3 separate regions of the Homo sapiens genome follow, and all the other regions are linked to region 2. The links are contacts of gene promoters, found by promoter capture Hi-C in human tissues and cell types (Jung and others, 2019). All regions are on one chromosome and are shown on one strand. The core of a region is centred on a gene start or on the middle of the fragment in contact, and the rest is flanking DNA. Distances in the headings are between cores, read along the strand shown. Region 1 has its middle 43 kb from the start of GBP6. Region 2 holds the start of GBP6 (guanylate binding protein family member 6). Region 3 has its middle 44 kb from the start of GBP6.

Evidence for each region. The method cuts DNA at HindIII sites, captures the fragments that hold promoters and counts their contacts. A contact is called where the count stands out against the background at its distance.
Region 1: a contact is called between a fragment that was not itself captured here and the fragment with the promoter of GBP6 in region 2, in 1 of the 25 tissues and cell types used here (dorsolateral prefrontal cortex).
Region 3: a contact is called between a fragment that was not itself captured here and the fragment with the promoter of GBP6 in region 2, in 4 of the 25 tissues and cell types used here (H1 embryonic stem cells, hippocampus, liver and 1 more).

Annotation. Positions count from the first base shown.
Region 1 is chr1:89,405,311-89,408,648 of GRCh38, reverse strand. It overlaps the pseudogene GBP1P1. Among named protein-coding and RNA genes, the nearest start is that of GBP6, 43 kb to the right of the region's middle. The HindIII fragment of the contact is 3,111 bases long and covers 320-3,338 here.
Region 2 is chr1:89,362,647-89,366,266 of GRCh38, reverse strand. It overlaps GBP6 (guanylate binding protein family member 6), which reads right to left and starts at 2,208. Exons shown (of 11, transcript NM_198460.3): 1 at 2,140-2,208. The HindIII fragment of the contact is 7,719 bases long and covers 1-3,620 here.
Region 3 is chr1:89,318,232-89,321,890 of GRCh38, reverse strand. No RefSeq gene overlaps it. Among named protein-coding and RNA genes, the nearest start is that of GBP6, 44 kb to the left of the region's middle. The HindIII fragment of the contact is 5,448 bases long and covers 1-3,659 here.

The DNA of each region.
Region 1 (3,338 bases), core at 626-3,125, 43 kb before region 2:
AGAGCTATCAGACCAGAAGGTGATGAATGAGGCTAGTGTCTTGACAAGGAATTCAGGCGAGGACTTTCCAGAAGGCAGGATTAAAGTAGTCTGATTGCATAGAGAGGTTAAAATAAGCAAAGATATTTTCTCTAGAGATGCATTACAGGAGAATTAAAGAGGAAACACTTTAGGCCCCAGTCTCTACTAAAAGAAGACAAAATTGGAAGCACTTTAGTGAAGCAGTGGGGTTGAATTTCACTTCTAAGGGACAGGGATCAGTGGGCACTAGGAAATTAGTGAGTCTGGACTATTTCTAAAGAAAGTAATCCATTCTGAAACGAAGTTCACAAGTGTAATAAAAAGTATACTGTTTTCATGAATCTTCATCTTTCAGGCTGAGTTTCAGTTTTTTCTTTGTCTTTAACCATGTCAGTGGGCTGATTACTCTGCTTCTCATTTGCTGTTCTTTCCTTATGAAAAGAACCCATTTGTAGCTCTTTCCATTTCTTAGCTGCATAGGAGCAGGATTCAGCAAGCTCCATCACTGATAATGGAAATGTAATCATGTCTCCAGTCAACACAGAGAATGACAACAAAGAGAAAGACTATCCTAGTGCATTTCAAACTCTCAGTTTAGCCCCTGTCTACTGGTGCCTAATTCAACACAAACACTGTAGTGTCACTTAAGGCCATGCTGTCCCTGATAACACCAGGATTTCATCTGACCTGCGTCCCACTTCAGGCTCATCTGCAGCCTAATTTGGTTCTGACGATGTTTAAGAAAATGAACTGACCTTTATAAATTCCTTCCCATCCCTGCCACAACCTTATGGGTTCCATATCCCTGAGCTGAGATCCTTTGGAGCTAAAGAGAAAGCTGCTTAATGAGAAGTAGTAAAAGTTCTTACCTGTTCTTTTTCTCCTTAGTTCATGAGGAGTGGCTTCTAGCACTTCTGTGTCTCTCACTGGATCCTTGGACTAATATTTTACTGTTCCAACGTTGTAGGGCTGGGATTTCTTCAGTGATGAAATATTTAAAGGTTAAGCATATTTGTAATGGATTTAGAGTAATATGAAACTGAAAGTACTTCATTCAAGTCCACTACCATAAATGAAATTACTGGAGTGTGCCAGTGGGAGGGTTTAATGATTGCTCAACCAGAAGCTTCAAAGTTTTTTGTTGGAAATCTTAGAGACCATTTGTTGTCTAACAAAATGCCCATTAGGTTTTGAATACAATGATACATGTCTCATGGATTGAGTCAGTTTGAGAATCCTAGAATGAGGAGGCATCATGTTAATTTTCAGCTATAATTTCCTAAAATAATAGACACACTCACAATGGAGCTGCCTATTCTTTTAGAGGTGCGGTAAATAAGGAAAGGGCATATTTAACACATTGTCTGACATAAAAAGTCAGACAGCTGGAAAAAAATAAGTAGGGAATTTTTCATTTAGATGGTGGGGATGAGGAAGCATCATTTCCTCACTTTTCAGTTCACTTGGTTTGCAGTCTATGGAATCCTTCTAGTAGATAGTCACAGATAAAATTAATTCACAATTTAGTATTATTACATGATGCAATAATTAATGTGTATATGCCTAGTGATTTCAAAGATTGTCTTGATATTAGCATCCAATGAACAGACTGAATTTCAGGTGTGGAATGTTTTGATAATAAGCTTATTTTCACACAAAGAGCTCTATGCAGCCGGCTGTAGAGTTCATAGCAAGAGGGATTCAGTGATTCAGCTGGGGTTACTGAGTCTCATATCAAATGGAAGCAAGACCTGCAAGCTAGAAAAACAATCAACCATCTGTACATGTGTGTATAGAGAGCAAATATACTGCATGCACAGCACTGTACTAGGTGCTGAGAAGTGTATGAAGATGAATTAAACACAGCCACTGCCCTTAACTGGACTTACTCTAGAGGGTAAGAATGACTTGCACTCAAAGCTTAAAAGCAAAGGCCTGGAGAGGAGTGGAAGAGTGGAGCACTGAACACTGAAATATGTAGCCCAAGATTGCACATTGGAAGACTTCAAACTTTTACCCATGAAGAATTTCCTTTCATGTCACTTATGTGAAGTGGGTTGAGTTTTAGTTTTATAAAAAATGACCTGACAGTAAAAACAGACACATAGACCAATGGAACAGAATAGAGAATTCAGAAATAAATTCACATATTTTAAGTTGCCTCATTTTTGACACAGAGACCAGTAATATACATTGGGGAATGTATGTTTACAATTGGTGCTGGGAAACGTGGATATTAATATGCCATATATCAATTCAGAATGGATTAAGTATTTAAATGTAAGACCCCAAACAATAAAACTACTGGAGGAAAACATAGGGAAAACACTTGCAGACATCTGTCCAGGCAACAATTTGATGGGTAAAACTTCAATAGCACACTCAACAAAAGCAAAAATAGACAAATGAGACTGTTAAATTAAAAGGCTTTTGTGCAGCAAAGGAAAAAAACCAACAGAATGGAGAGTCATCCTGCGTAATGGGATAATGTATTTGCAAGCTATTCAACTTACAAAGGACTAATGTTCAGAATATACAAGAGTCTCAACTCAAAAACAAACAAACAAATACTCTTATTAAAAAATGGGCAAAATATCTGAATAGACATTTCTCAAAAGAAGAGATACAACTGGCTAACAAGTATATAAAAAAATGCTTAACATGTCTTAGATCTGGCACGATGGCTGAATAGGAATAGCTCCGGTCTGCAGCTACCAGTGAGACCAATGCAGAAGGCAAGTGATTTCTGTGTTTCCAACTGAGGTACCCTGTTCATCTCATTGGGACTGGTTAGGCAGTGGGTGTAGTCTTCTGCATTTCCGACTGAGGTACCCTGTTCATCTCATTGAGACTGGTTAGGCAGTGGTGCAGCTCACAGAGAGCGAGCAGAAGCAGGGTGGGGCATTGACTCACCTGCGAAGTGCAAGGAGCCAGGGACCTCCCTCCCCCAGCCAAGGGGAGCCCTGAGGGACTGTGCTACCCACCCAGATACTACGCTTTTCCGTGTGGTTTTTGCAATCTGCAGACCAGGATATTCCCTCGTGCCTATACCACCAGGACCCTGGGGTTTCAAGCACAAAACTGGGCAGCTGTTTGAGAAGACACCGAGCTGGCTGCAGGAATTTTTTTTTTTCCCCTAGTGGTGGAATCCCAGCAAGACAGAATCATTCATTCTCATGGAAAGGGGGCTGAAGCCAGGGAGCCAAGTTGTCTTGCTCAGCGGGTCCCACTCCTACGGAGCCCAGCAAGCTAAGAAACACTGGCTTGAAATTCTCACTGCCAGCACAGCAGTCTGAAGTTGACCTGGGACAATTGAA
Region 2 (3,620 bases), core at 959-3,458:
AGAATAAGAATAACAATACATATAATATTGCATATTATTTATGGAGATAAATTATAGATATCTAGAGAGAGAGAGAAATTATGTACATACATATTAATAGATAAGTTAGAGAGATTTCTTTTTGAGAGATAAAGTCAATGTCACTTTTGGGTGAATCGAGGTGAAAGGCATATGGGATTTAATTGTAATATTTTTAGAGGTGAAGTTTAATTCCATAAATTTAGTATTGAAAGTACAATTATTCTGTAGGTCTCCTGGCACATTTTTATTGCCATTATATTAAAATGGTTTTCTATGATACCTGTATTTCCTTATAATTAGAAAAATGTAAACATAATATTGTCTTCAAATGCCTCAAATACTCAGTTTAGAATTGATATGTCAGACACTCAAGATGCATCTAATGCCACCAAAAATACCAGCTCTATCATTCACTACTTATGTGGCCTTGACCAAGGAGGTCAAGCTAGCTGAGCCTGTTAATTATAGGGGTCTGTGAGTTAAATCATACATCCAACCTGGAGGGTGTTTTGATAATAAAACGAGACATTATAAGTTTATATCTTTGCATAGCATGCACCACACAATAGGATTTCAGTAAATGTTGAATTAAATGGAGGTTACTACAATAATTACAATAACAATTGGTCCATTAGATTATATATTTCAACAAAATATACAAACTATAAGTTACTAAGAAACAAAAACTACAAATAAATTTTTCACGGAAGCAAAACTGTAAAGTTCAAGCACGCTGTTGCTGTACAACCTGCTCTTGTCTGATTCTTCACTGAGGGGAGTAAGGAAAATGGAGATCAAACACGAGGTCCTGATTTCCACAGTGAAATGCATTGTAATGTGATGTGTAACGTGTTCATCACATTACAGTGACTGCAACTGTACAGTCCCTTCTTTAAAGTGAACAATAAAGGCAGCTCTAGGAAGATGTGGCTGCTCCTGCAAACAACTTTATATAAACCAGGTCTCTGGTTTCTTAGCTGTGTGGGAACCACAGACCTTTTAACTTCTACTAAATGAAATACAGCTGTTCAATCCTATTCAGGACTGGTTTTCACACTCTGATGTACATAAGAATCACCTGATCACTCTGATGATAGTTTCTTTTGCTGTGCAGAAGCTCTTTAATTAGATCCCATTCTCAGCAAACTAACACAGGAACAGAAAACCAAAAACTGCGTGTTCTAACTGGTAAGTGGGAGTTGAACAATGAGAACATGTGGACACGGGCGGCGGGGGGTTGGCGCTGGGGGTGGGGGTGGGAAACTCACACACTGGGGCCTGTCAGTGGGTGGAGGGCAAGGGGAGGGAGAGCATTAGGACAAATACCTAATGCATGCGGGGCTTAAAACCTAGATGACGGATTGATAGGTGCAGCAAACCACCATGGGACATGGTGGTTTTTAAAAAAATCTTTTTTATTTTAAACATAGTGTCTATTCTTCATCTTTTTTTTTTTTAAAGAATCAACTGAGAGGATTGTTCAAACCCAGATTCCCAGGCCTAAGTATCCATCTGTTTAGCAAGAGCTACAAGAGACTCTGATGTTCCTATGGGAAACTAACACCCCCCTCCTCCCCCACCCCCTCCCCACACACACATACACACACACACACACACACGCACACACAGAGTTTGGACTATATAATTATTTTTAAGTAATAAAGACCAGTGATGTGGGGCCTAAGTTTATTTCTACATAGAGATTTATAGAGCTCTTATTCTGAAGCTTTCCTAAGTGTGACCACTAGAAAGATAGACAAGAAACTCTCCCTTCCGGTATAATTGCCTGGAAGCTCCTTGTTCTCTGCATTCTGGGGCTTGCCGCAGGACCTGAGAGAGATAGCCAGGCAGGCGCCCACCAGGGCTCATTCCAGGCCACTCACTGCTGTCCTGAGTTGATGATCAGGGAACAGCACATCCAGGGGGACGCGGCGTGCCCGGCTGTCACTGGTTCAAGTGGAGAAGCTGAGCTTCCCCAGAACTAAAGCCAGCCACAGACTCCTGCAGGCCAGGCAGCAGGCACCCTGCCCTTCCTGCCCATTCCTCAGTTACCACTCTGAATCAGAAACCAAGTCTTGAGTTAGGAACTAAGTTGCATTTAAAAGAAAGTGAACATACCTGCTCTATAGCACCGCAGGTCCAAGAACAGTTTTCAGTTGCCTCACTCACCTCTTGTTTTCTTTCCTCCTTTTACTTTTCTGTTCTTTCCTTTATAAAAGGAAAAAAAAGCTGAGTAAGCTAGTTGTTTCCACAAATGGGATGGTGCAGTAAAAATAAACTTGGAAGTAAAATTAATCCATGCTTTTAATAAAGTGTTAGCAGAGCCATGCCTGAATCATCCGATGTGAGTTTGAGGATGGGTGTTGGGTGCAGGGGTGGGAGGAGGTCAGAAAAAGCCACAGATACTGCACAGTCACACCTTAGCAAGCACAATCCTGCCAGCTTTCTTTTGTCTTTCCCATCTTAGAAGGCTTCACAGGCTTTCTTCTTGATACCGTTCCCAGGTGGCTTTAGTTTCCTAGGCACACAAGAAAAACAGGAAATCTACAGTAGTCACATAAGCAAAGCCTTAGAAACCAAGAATATTTTAAGCATTTTTCTCTTAGTGGGAATTCTTGAGTTCTGGGGTCTTTTGTTAGTGAAGAACTTTTGATATTTTAAATGTGTTCACACATGCACACACACACACAGAAGAGAGAGAGAGAAAGAGAGAGAGCTAAAGATATTACTGGTTTAAAAAAAGAATGAACCATGTCTTTTACAGCAACATGGATGGAACTGGAGTTCATTATCTTAGGTGAAACAACTCAGAAACCGAAAGTCAAATACCACATTCTTACTCATAAGTGGAAGCTAAAAAATCTGCATACATGGACATAGAAGGTGGAATGTGCAGTGCATAACAGTGTACAAGCTCCTATGAGAATCTAATGCTGCTGCTGATCTGACAGGAGGCAGGTCTCAGGCCTTAGTGCTCTCTCCCTACTCACCTCCTGTGTGGCCCAGTTTCTAACAGACCATGCTCTGGGGGTTTGGGACCCTTGATGTGGACTATTTATCCAACAACCCACAGTTTCCATTGGTTGAGTCTTATCCCCAGGGACTTTAACTATTTTGAATTCACAAGCTGCCCTTGGGCAAAATAGACACCCTTTCACAGCTTGGAGAAACATCTGAGTGAGAAAAGGAGAAAGACTCTCTACAGAGGACATAGCAGCATGCTGGGACTGTCTACCATGGCTGCACTGCTAAATGGATTTGAGAACAGAAGCAAGTGGCAGAATGAGCAGACATGAGTTTTGGCAATAACTTAGGCTGAGGATTTGGGGAGTGTGGTAGACTAATCTGAATACTCTATTCAGACAAAGACTTGTGTTAAAAATGTAAAATTCTGGGCCAGGTGCGGTGGCTCACTCCTGTAATCCCAGCACTTTGGGAGGCCGAGGCGGGCGGATCACGAGGTCAGGAGATCAAGACCATCCTGGCTAACAGGGGGAAACCCTGTCTCTCTCTACTAGAAATACAAAAAAATTAGCCGGGTGTGGTGGCGGGCACCTGTAGTCCCAGCTCCTCAGGAGACTGAGGCAGGAGAATGGTGT
Region 3 (3,659 bases), core at 755-3,254, 44 kb after region 2:
ACAAAGTGATTGAAATAATTTAAAAGAATTAAGCAGAAATGCTGGAGCTGAAGAAATTCAATTGACAAACTAAAACTAAAGAATATATCAGAATCTCACAACAGCAATCCAGGAGAAGAAAAAATTAGTGATCTTGAAGACAGGCTATTTGAAAATACACAGTGATAGAAGTTAAAAGAATAAAAAAAGGAAGCATCTCTATAGGATCTAGAAAACAGCCTCAAAAAGGCAAATCTAAATGTTATTGGCCTTAATGAGGAGGTAAAGAGAGGCTGAGTTAGAAATCTTATTCATAGGGATAAAAATAGACATTACCAAACCTAGGGAAAGATAACAATATTCAAGAACAAGAAGATTATAGGAGACCAGGCAGATTTAACACAAATAAGACTACCTCAATATGTTTAATAATCAAACTCCCAAAGGTCAAGGATAAATAAGGCATACTAAAAGCAAAAAGAGAAAAGAAAAAAAAAAACATATAAAGGAGCTTCAATATGTCTAGCACATATTACTCAGTGGAAAGCTTACTAGCCAGGAGTAAGTGGTATAATATATTTAAACTGCTAAAAAAAAATCTTTTATCCTAGAATATCATACCAGTGAAAATATCCTTCAAACATAGAGGAAAAGTAAAGACTTTTCCAGCAAACAAAAGCTGAGGTAGTTCATCAACATAAGACCTGTCCTAAAAGAAATGCTAAAGAGAGTACTTCAATCTGAAAGGAAAGCATGTTAATGAGCAAAAAAAAAATCATCTGAGTACATAAAATTCACTGGTAACAGTGAGTATACCGACAAATATAAAATAATATGACACTGTAATTGTGGTATGTAAACTACTCATACCTTGCATAGGAAGAGTAAAAGACAAATTTATCGAAAATAATAACCACAACAACTTTTTAAGACATAGTATAATAAGATATAAATAGAAACAACGAATAGTTGAAAAGCAGAGAGGATGAAGTTAAAGTGTTGAATGTTATTAGTTTTCTCTTTGCTTGTCAGTTTTTTTTTGTAGATTTTAGCAATTAGAGTTTAACTGTCATCAGTGTAAAATAATGAGTTACAAGATATTAGTTGCAAGCCTTGTGGTAACCACAAATCAAAAAACCTACAACAGATACACAAAAAATGTATAGAGCAAGAACTTAAAACATACCAACAAGAAAATCACTTTCACAAAAAGAAAGACATGAAGGAAGAAGAGAAGAAAGAGAAGACCACAAACAACCAGAAAACAAAACCAAATGGCAGGAGTAAGTTGTTATTTAGCAACAATAACATTGAATGCAAATGGACTATACTCTCCAATCAAAAGACACAGAGAGGCCGAATGGATTAAAAAAACAGAATCCAGTGATCTGTTGCCTACAAGAAACACACTTCACCTATAAAGACACACACAAACTGAAAATAAGAAGAAGGAAAAAGACATTCCATGCCAATGGAAACCAAAAAAAGAGCAGGAGTAGCTATACTTATATCAGATAAAAGCATTTCAAGATAAAAACTATAAAAAAGACAAAGAATGTCACTATGTAACGAGTAAAAGGGATTAATATAGCAAGAGGATATAACCATTGTAAATATATATGCACCCAATACTGGAGCATCTAGATATATAAAGCAAATATTATTAGTTCAAAAGAGAGAGACAGACCACAGTATAATAACAGCTGGAGATTTCAACACCTCACCTTCAGCATTGGACAGATCAGCCAAACAAAAATTACAAAGAAAATATCAGACCTAATCTATACTATAGACCAAAAGACCTAATAGATATTTACAGATTATTTCATCCAAGGGTTGAAAAATACACGTTCTTCTGCTCAGGAAATAGATCATCCTCAAGTATAGACTATACTTTAAGCCACAAAATCAGTCTGAAAAATACAAAAAAGGTAAATATGATACTTGACACATATCAAGTATCTTCTCTGACCACAATGGAATAAAACTAGAAATCAAGCATATGAGAAAACTTAAAAGGAACACAAACATTTGGAAATTAATCAATTTGCTCCTGAATGACCAGTGGGTCAAAAAACAAGAATCAAATTTAAGAATTCCTGAAACAAATGCAAATGGAAAGAAAACATACCAAAACTTATGGGATAAGCAAAAGTGGTACTAAGAGGAAAGTTTATAGCAATAAGCACCTACAACAAAGAGGGAGCAATACTTCAAATAATCTAATGATGCATCTTAAGGAACTAGAAAAGCAAGAGCAAACCAAACCTAACATTAGTAGAAGAAAAGACATAATAATGATCTGAGCAGGAAAAAAAAAGAAATTGAAATGAGAAAAGCAATACTAAATGTCATCAAAAAGAAAAGTTGGTTTTTTGAAAAGATAATGAAAATTGGCAAACTTTTAGCCAGACTAACTGATAAAGACAGAAGACCCAAATAAATAAAATCAGAGATGAAAAAGGAGACATTACAACTTATACTGCAGAAATGTAAAGAATCACTGGACTACTATGAACAACTGTATGTCCACAAATTGGAAAACCTAAAAGAAGTGGATAAATTCCTAGACATACACAACCTACCAAGATTGAACCATTAAGAAATCTGAAGCCTAAATAGAGCAATAAAAAGTAATGACATCAAAGCCATAATAAAAAGTCTCCCAGCAAAGAAAAGCCCAGGACCCAATGGTCTCAATGCTGAACTCTACCAGACATTTAAAAAAGAATACCAATCCAACTCAAACTATTCCCCCAAAAAAGAAGGAGAGGGAATACTATGAAACTTATTCTACAAGGCCGGTATTACCCTGATGCCAAAAGCAAAGAAACATCAAAAAAAGAAAACAACAGGCTAATATCTCTGGTTAATATTGATACAAATATCCTCAACAAAATACCAGCAAAGCAAATTCAACATCAAATTTGAAAGATCATTCATCATGACTGTCATTGCAACCCCTGCTTTTTTTTTCTTTTATTTCCATTTGCTTGGTAAATATTCCTTCATTCCTTTATTTTGAGCCTATGTGTGACTGCACATGAGATGGGTCTTCTGAATACAGCACACCAATGGATCTTGACTTTTTATTCAATTTGTCAGTCTGTGTCTTTTAATTGGGTCATTTGGCCCATTTACATTTAAGGTTAACATTGTTATGTGTGAATTTGATCCTGTCATCATGATGCTAGCTAGTTATTTTGCACATTTGTTGATGCAGTTTCTTCCTAGTGTCATTGGTCTTTATATTTTGGTCTGTTTTTGGTGTGGCTGGTATCAGTTTTTCCTTTCCATATTTAGTGCTTCCTTCAGGAGCTCTTGTAAGGCAGGCCTGGTGGTGACAAAATCCCTCAGCATTTGCTTGTCTGTAAAGAATTTTATTTCTCCTTTGCTTATGAAGCTTAGTTTGGCTGGATATGAAATTCTGGGTTGAAAATTCTTCTATTTAAGAATGTTGAATATTGACCCCCACTGTCTTCGGGCTTGTAGGGTTTCTGCAGAGAGATCTGCTATTAGTCTGATGAGCTTCCTTTTGTAGGTAACCTGACCTTTCTCTCTAGCAGCCCTCAACATTTTTCCTTCATTTCAACCTTGGAGAATCTGATGATTATGTGTCTTGGGGTTACTCTTCTCAAGGAGTATCTTAGTGAAGTTCTCTGTATTTCCTGAATTTGAAT